2 separate regions of the Homo sapiens genome follow, and region 2 is linked to region 1. The links are contacts of gene promoters, found by promoter capture Hi-C in human tissues and cell types (Jung and others, 2019). All regions are on one chromosome and are shown on one strand. Each heading gives the region's core, a stretch centred on a gene start or on the middle of the fragment in contact. The rest is flanking DNA. Distances are from core to core; before and after follow the strand shown.

What was found. The method cuts DNA at HindIII sites, captures the fragments that hold promoters and counts their contacts. A contact is called where the count stands out against the background at its distance.
Region 2: a fragment that was not itself captured here is called in contact with the fragment with the promoter of B3GALNT1 in region 1 in 1 of the 25 tissues and cell types used here (thymus).

The regions. Positions count from the first base shown.
Region 1 is chr3:161,103,443-161,106,633 of GRCh38, forward strand. It overlaps B3GALNT1 (beta-1,3-N-acetylgalactosaminyltransferase 1 (Globoside blood group)), which reads right to left and starts at 1,907. Exons shown (of 5, transcript NM_003781.4): 1 at 1,793-1,907; 2 at 877-964; 3 at 1-75. It overlaps LOC124909453 (a long non-coding RNA gene), which reads left to right and starts at 1,239. Exons shown (of 2, transcript XR_007096147.1): 1 at 1,239-1,443; 2 at 3,129-3,191. RefSeq lists silencers at 1,462-1,711, 1,722-1,811. The HindIII fragment of the contact is 8,350 bases long and covers 1-3,191 here.
Region 2 is chr3:161,052,846-161,055,997 of GRCh38, forward strand. The region is part of intron 2 of PPM1L (protein phosphatase, Mg2+/Mn2+ dependent 1L); the gene reads left to right. Among named protein-coding and RNA genes, the nearest start is that of B3GALNT1, 51 kb to the right of the region's middle. The HindIII fragment of the contact is 5,452 bases long and covers 1-3,152 here.

The DNA of each region.
Region 1 (3,191 bases), core at 657-3,156:
GAAATTAAAGCTTAAGTTTTTTGTTGTTTTCTGTATTCCATGCTTAATTAAAACACTCAGATCTGTTGTGAACTACTGAACAGAAGAACAGAAAAAAATATATATGAGTCATAACATTAGGAATTATGACATCTAAAATCAATGTTGTATACTTAGCAAGTTGTTTTTGGAGCCATTTATTACATATCAACACTTTTTTCATTTTTGGAAAAGCCTTGATCCTCTCTTCTCGCTTTCAAATCACCTCATGCTCTAATCTGAAATTATACTTGGACACTGTTTTTTTGTTTTTTGTTTGTTTTGGAGATGGAGTCTCACTCTGTTGCCCAGGCTGGAGTGCAATGGCACAATCTCGGCTCACTGCAACCTCTGCCTCCCGGGTTCGAGCAATTCTCCTGCCTCAGCCCCCCGAGGAACTGGGATTTCAGGTGTGTGCCACCACACCCAGCTAATTTTGTATATTTAGTAGAGACGGGGTTTCACCACGTTGGCCAAGCCGATCTCGAACTCCCGACCTGAGGTGATCTGCCCGCCTCGGCCTCCCAAAGTGCTGGAATTACTGGCGTGAGCCACCGCGCCCGGCCTGGATGCTGTTTTGACAACAGTGTTTATTTTCAGGTCTGGAGTTATCCAATGGCCATTCATTTGAACGAACATTTTAGTCTATGAGGGGAAAAAAGTCATAGTCTCTTATCTGTTAGTAATAAACGATTCTGTTCTCCAGACTGATACGCGTTCAGTAATTTGTGCTTTTATCAGGCATCGACACATGCATACTAAGAGCACAAATTCAGCGCCCTTCTTTTGCTTAAGCCTCCTGGGAGAAGCTAAAAAACTTGTTCCCAGTTGAACACTGCAAACCCAAATTTTCCTTACCTCTGAAAACAGAAAAAAAGACATGGTTTGGCAATTTCTTCCTTGATAGCTTTTCCCACAACGCAGCCACCTCCTAAACGCAGGCAATCTGTGCAAAACGCAGAGGAAACAAAATCATGAAAGCCCTGCAAATCTCCCTCCTAAATCCAACATTAAGAAGGCGAACGGATACTGAATTCAAAGACTACCCGTACTTGAGGATGGCATCATTCCTTACTGCTTGGAAAAGTGAGACTCCGTTGCACCTCTAGGAATCTTTTTAAAACGCCCTGTATGTTCCTTAACACTGCCTGTAGGAATCCTGTAGCCCTAGCCCCGTGGGATTTCCTTCTCTCTCCGCCCGTTCTCCACATTCCCCACTTAGTTTCACATTCCTTCCCAATCCCTCCGACATCCCTGCGCCGGGGCCCTTCCCTAGCGCTCCGGGAAAGCGTTCGCCGCAGGCCTGTTAGGGGCCCACCAATACCGTAACACCGTTCCCGTCCTCTTCCTCGGCACCGCTGCAAACGCCCCGGGTCGCTACCCGGATTTGACGGTGGCTGGAGCGGCACGGGCGACGCAAGGCAGGTATTGCACCCTGGGGCAAGGCAAGGTGGACAACCAGCGGATGCGGCGCGGCCGCGGCCTGGGCCTGGGCCCTCCGCGTCGCCCACTGCCCCACTGGGCCCCTTCTCCCGCGCTCACCGGAGGCGGGCAGCTGCTCGTCACCGAGACCCGAGACCCACGGTGCGGCGGCTCAACCTGGGCCACGCTCCGCTCTAGAGGAGTGGGCGGTGCCTCCCGGCCTAGCTGCCGGGGTCTAGGCGTTTCCGAGGACGGCGCGTTCCGGGAAAGGCGGGTCCGGTGGCTATACCCTCCACCCAGTGGCAGGACTCAACCGCCTCGGAGACCCTGCAGGGCCGCCCTTCTCACTCACCTCCTGTGCTCGGCGCGCACCCAGCTCGGAAGCGGGAAGGTGGCCGGCGTTCTCTCCCTGCGCACACACGCAGCCTCCCCGCATCCGCACGCACGGCCGGGCGCGCGCAGACCACGCGCCAGGGCCGCGGCCGGAAGCCCCTGGCTGCACGCGCGGGCCCAGGCGGCCCCCAGCCCTGTGAGCTCGCATGGCGCGCCCTCTGGGTCCTCGCGGTCACCTTGCATTCCGAGCACGGCCGTGTTATGTATGCCTTTAGTTGATGCTGGCCAAAATTAGACAACTTAGTGGCAGACGTCGAGCTAGAATTTTTGTTTGAGATCCTTTTTCCCTGGTCGTCTTTCCAAACTGCGTGAGTGCATGGCCTCGAGGCGGCCCTGGAGGGATTTTCTTGTTAAACTTCATACAGAACTAATTAGGAAAGAGGAAATCTTAGGAGGAGTTCTTTGCTGTCTCAGAAGAAATGCCAGTTCTTCTTCCGGAATCGATGGGGAATGGAATGGGGGTAAGAGAGACACGTCAGGTTTCAATGGCCTGTGTATGGATGGGAGTCCCAGGGAGTTGCTTTTGTACACCTGAGCATAGCTGACCTAAACTCCCAGATCCATCTCCTCAAACTCCTTTTACCAAGATGTGCAGTATTGATTGTACTGGTCCTTTCCTCAAAATCAAGTGGGTCTGGATCATGTATTTAACCACTACCAAGCTCAGCCATGAGCACCACCCCTGATTGTAACCCACACATTTGCATCAAGACTAAACGTGGCCCACCATTTCTTTTTGTTTACTGACTCTTTGGCCTGACTGCTTCTTCCTTATAGCCTTTTTCTGCAAAATTACTTAGGATAGTTTGAAGGTTCTCTGAAAATAATAGGGGTGAATATAGAGATCAAAATGGATATACAACAAAAGTAAGTTTAGATAGTAGCAGTGTAAGTCAAGGACTTAGTTGACACTGCATAAATAATCAGATCTAAATTATAATAATCAGATCTAAATTATGGTTGAGATTGTTTTCCTGGTTCCAGCCTTGGCAGGTAGCTGTGTCCTTTGCAGAGGGTAAAGTGATTGCTGCCCTGCTGCACGCCTTTATCACAGCCATTCTTCACCCTACCTGGGCTGACAGTTCACCTCACTAAGTCAAGGAGGTCCATTAATAACAAAACCAGACAGGTTTCACTGCAGATAGATTAATATGCTGAAAAAATAGACCTCTTATTTGGAAGAATGCTTTAGGGCATTAATACTATATTTTACAAATTCCGTTTCTTAAAATTTTAGAAAAGTTGTATTTCAATACTCATTTTTAAAATGTTTTGAATGTCCTTTGAGTAACCAGCAGGTATATGTGCTCATAGCTGCCAAAACTTCCCTGGAATGCAAAGCAGAGCCATGGACAACA
Region 2 (3,152 bases), core at 237-2,736, 51 kb before region 1:
TTCAGACTGTGCCTCTCATTTTCAGCCTTCTTCTCCCCTTTTCCTGTCTCTGCCTTTCTCCTCTCTGCCTTTTATTGAAAGGCAAATGCCCCTTGTAATAAGGTTCAATTTCAGAAGTTCCTGTTATACCCCACTCCCATAGCATTCATAAAAAAAGCAGAGACCGTAGTTATAATTTGCTGGGAACCCTAAAAGAGAAGTGAGACAACTCACTGAAGAATCCTCAAATAACACGAAGACGTGAAAAAATATAGCTGGTGCTTCTCTGGCTTATGTAGGAAGAATCAAAGCAACCATGAAATTAATTTTATTTACCATTAAAAGATACTGGACTTAGAATTCAGGTTGTGATTATGTAATTATAAATTAATTTCAGTAGCATTGTATAATCTGAAATGCCAGCAATAGTTATGAGAAGTATGTTAATGAGGATCAGAAAAGCTTGTCTGCTTGAATGTACCTCAAAATAGTCATGCCCAGAGAGTATATATGAAGCCTCCTGCAGCAAGTGGACCCACTGTGGTTTCCTAAGACTCTCCAATGCATGTGATCAGTTTACTAGGAAGCAGCTCTCTTTAATATGTTCATACTTAACAGAAAAGGAAGGACCAGAAGGTTGCCCATAGGCTGCACCCAAGTGTGAAATAAACATTATTATTACAGCAGTTGAAATGTGAAGTTGAAGAACATTTTAATTTCAAAATAGTATTCATGAGAATCAGATGACACATCTATACTTTAACTCTGGTGAAGTGTGAAAATTAAATGAACACTCCGTCAGATTCTGAAAGTTGAATTATGACCCCCACCTCCCTCACTAAAGAGATATTTTTTCATATTTAGGGTGGCATACCTCATTTGTGGAAAAGGTCTTTCTGGCACTCATCCCCTGTTTCTCAATTTATTGTAGCCATCTTATTAATCACTGTGTTTGCTGGGGAAGAGCCAAAGTATACCTAAATCTAGAATTAAACTATATAGCACTAGGGTTTAAAATAATAGAATTTGTCATCAAGTTGACTGCCTCATATTCATCCAGTGTCAAACTCAATAGTTGATATGTTTGCTTATGCAAAAATATCAGAGAGGAAAAGAAAATTTTAATTTGTAATGGATCTATTTCTCATAAAATGTCATTCCTGCCGCTCTGCTCTTTAGCACATGATGAGGGGAAGCTGAGGCAGCTTCTATTGTAAAGGAAGACCCAAGGAGGTGCCATTTTAGGGGACCTTCAGTCTCCACCCAGTTCAGGGGATTCACATGAGCCTCCCTGCATATATGGGCGTGTCCCATCACTGCTTCTTCTGCTTGGAAGCCCACAAAGATGGTTTGCTATCCTAGTACCTCAGGTCTTGATGGAAGAAGGCCTTGGTGTGTTCTTAATTATATCCTTTGCCTCAGATGTTTTGTTGTCAGTGTTTCACTCTTCCCAGTCAGGTTTTAGGGCTGCTACCAGTCTCTCCATGAAATAGAAACCCCCTAATGTGCTGTTCTGCTGAACTTCCTCATTGACTGACCTTGTACTATGATGTCTTTCTTCCTGGGGTCAGTGGGTACGGGATAAAGCCTCTAAGCAGGGTTGCCCATATGGTTGTGTATGTTTGGATTACCCCACAGCTCTGGACGGCACCATTCACACTGTGGTCATTGTCGATTTAAATATGTATTATGGCCATTTTATGGAGATGGTAGTAAAGGGTCTTGATGAAGACATACCTTTTTCTGGTTTGCACACAAAAAATTAAACACAAGGTAGCAATGGCCTGCCCTGATGTTGAAAGCAAGACTCTGGCAACAGGCTAGGTGGGTTCTACCCCTTACTAGCTGTGTGACCTTGGGCTAGTCACATAATCTCAGTTTTATCATCTGTAAGATGGGAATAATAATAGTACATCATAGGCTATTAGGATTAAAGAAATTATGTATGCCAAGGACTAAGTACAGAGCCTGACGCATGGTGAATGCTCAGTATATGGCAGCTGTCACAATGTGGCCCATTTGTGTCCTTCCATATAGATAGATCATTTTCCAATTTCCAATTACTTTCTACACATCCTCTCTTAACATAAAATGACTTTCAAGCCCATTACTACAAGACTTATTACAGGGGACCTATGGACTTGTGATTTGAATCGTAATTAGTATTAATTTAATAGTCTCTTCACAGAGTTAGACTAATATGTCAGGTGACACAGTGTCTTAGCCCAGCCACACACATTGATATGACTCTGATGATGGCCTGCCTCTCAGTGAAGTCAGAGCAGGGGGTACAAGGACTCAGGCAATAGACAAGAGAGAAAAGAAAGATTAAAGCTTACTGTTTATAGTGTTTTCCACACAAGGTATCATCCCTGACAAGTCTTTCTATGCCATGGCATTGATTATTAGAAGAAAGACTCGTAAAAACCTCTAGGCAGGTCAGATTTTGGCAGACTTAAAGATTATGCAGACAAGAGTAGGGGTCAGGGAGTCTTATCTGAGAGCTGCCGGGTACTTTATGTGTGTTTCAGGACAGGGCTGACCACAGTGTTGGCTGTGGAAGGTGGGGGCTGGAAACCTCTGCTGACAGTGATCTTATCTTTCCCATGTGATAGTTTCATTAATGACTGCCTTCACCTGCTCTTTTTCCAGTATGTTGCACTCCAATGTAATTTCTGTCCGTTATCAGGCCTTGATGTCATCTATGCCCTGAAATTGTGTTATTGAACTAACACTCATTGTCAAACCTTTACGAGATAAACCTATTTTATTTCTCCTCATCCTAAAAATGTGTTGATTCTCCTGTGCTGTGTATAATGAATGGCCCTTTGGCTGTTGTAACACCTTCACTGAAATCCTTGAAGTGTGTGTGTGCCTATCTCTCTATGTCTCGCCCCCTTTCGCCTCCTCCCCTTCCTCACCCCTTGCCACCCCTTCCTTACCCTCCCCAATCTCTCTCTCTCTTTCCTAAAGAACAAAAATGGCAGTTTCCCTTATTCTCATAGAAAAGACTTTATGTCACAGAAGGGAGCTGCTATTAGCATAAGCAGTCTGGCATTGTGTGGGTGAGTGTCCATGTGCATTATCAAGCAAGGCTTATAAACCATGTTAATTCCACACAACTTTCTCTACTCCATCCAGCTTCCAATCCGTACCCCACAACATAAAAAGTG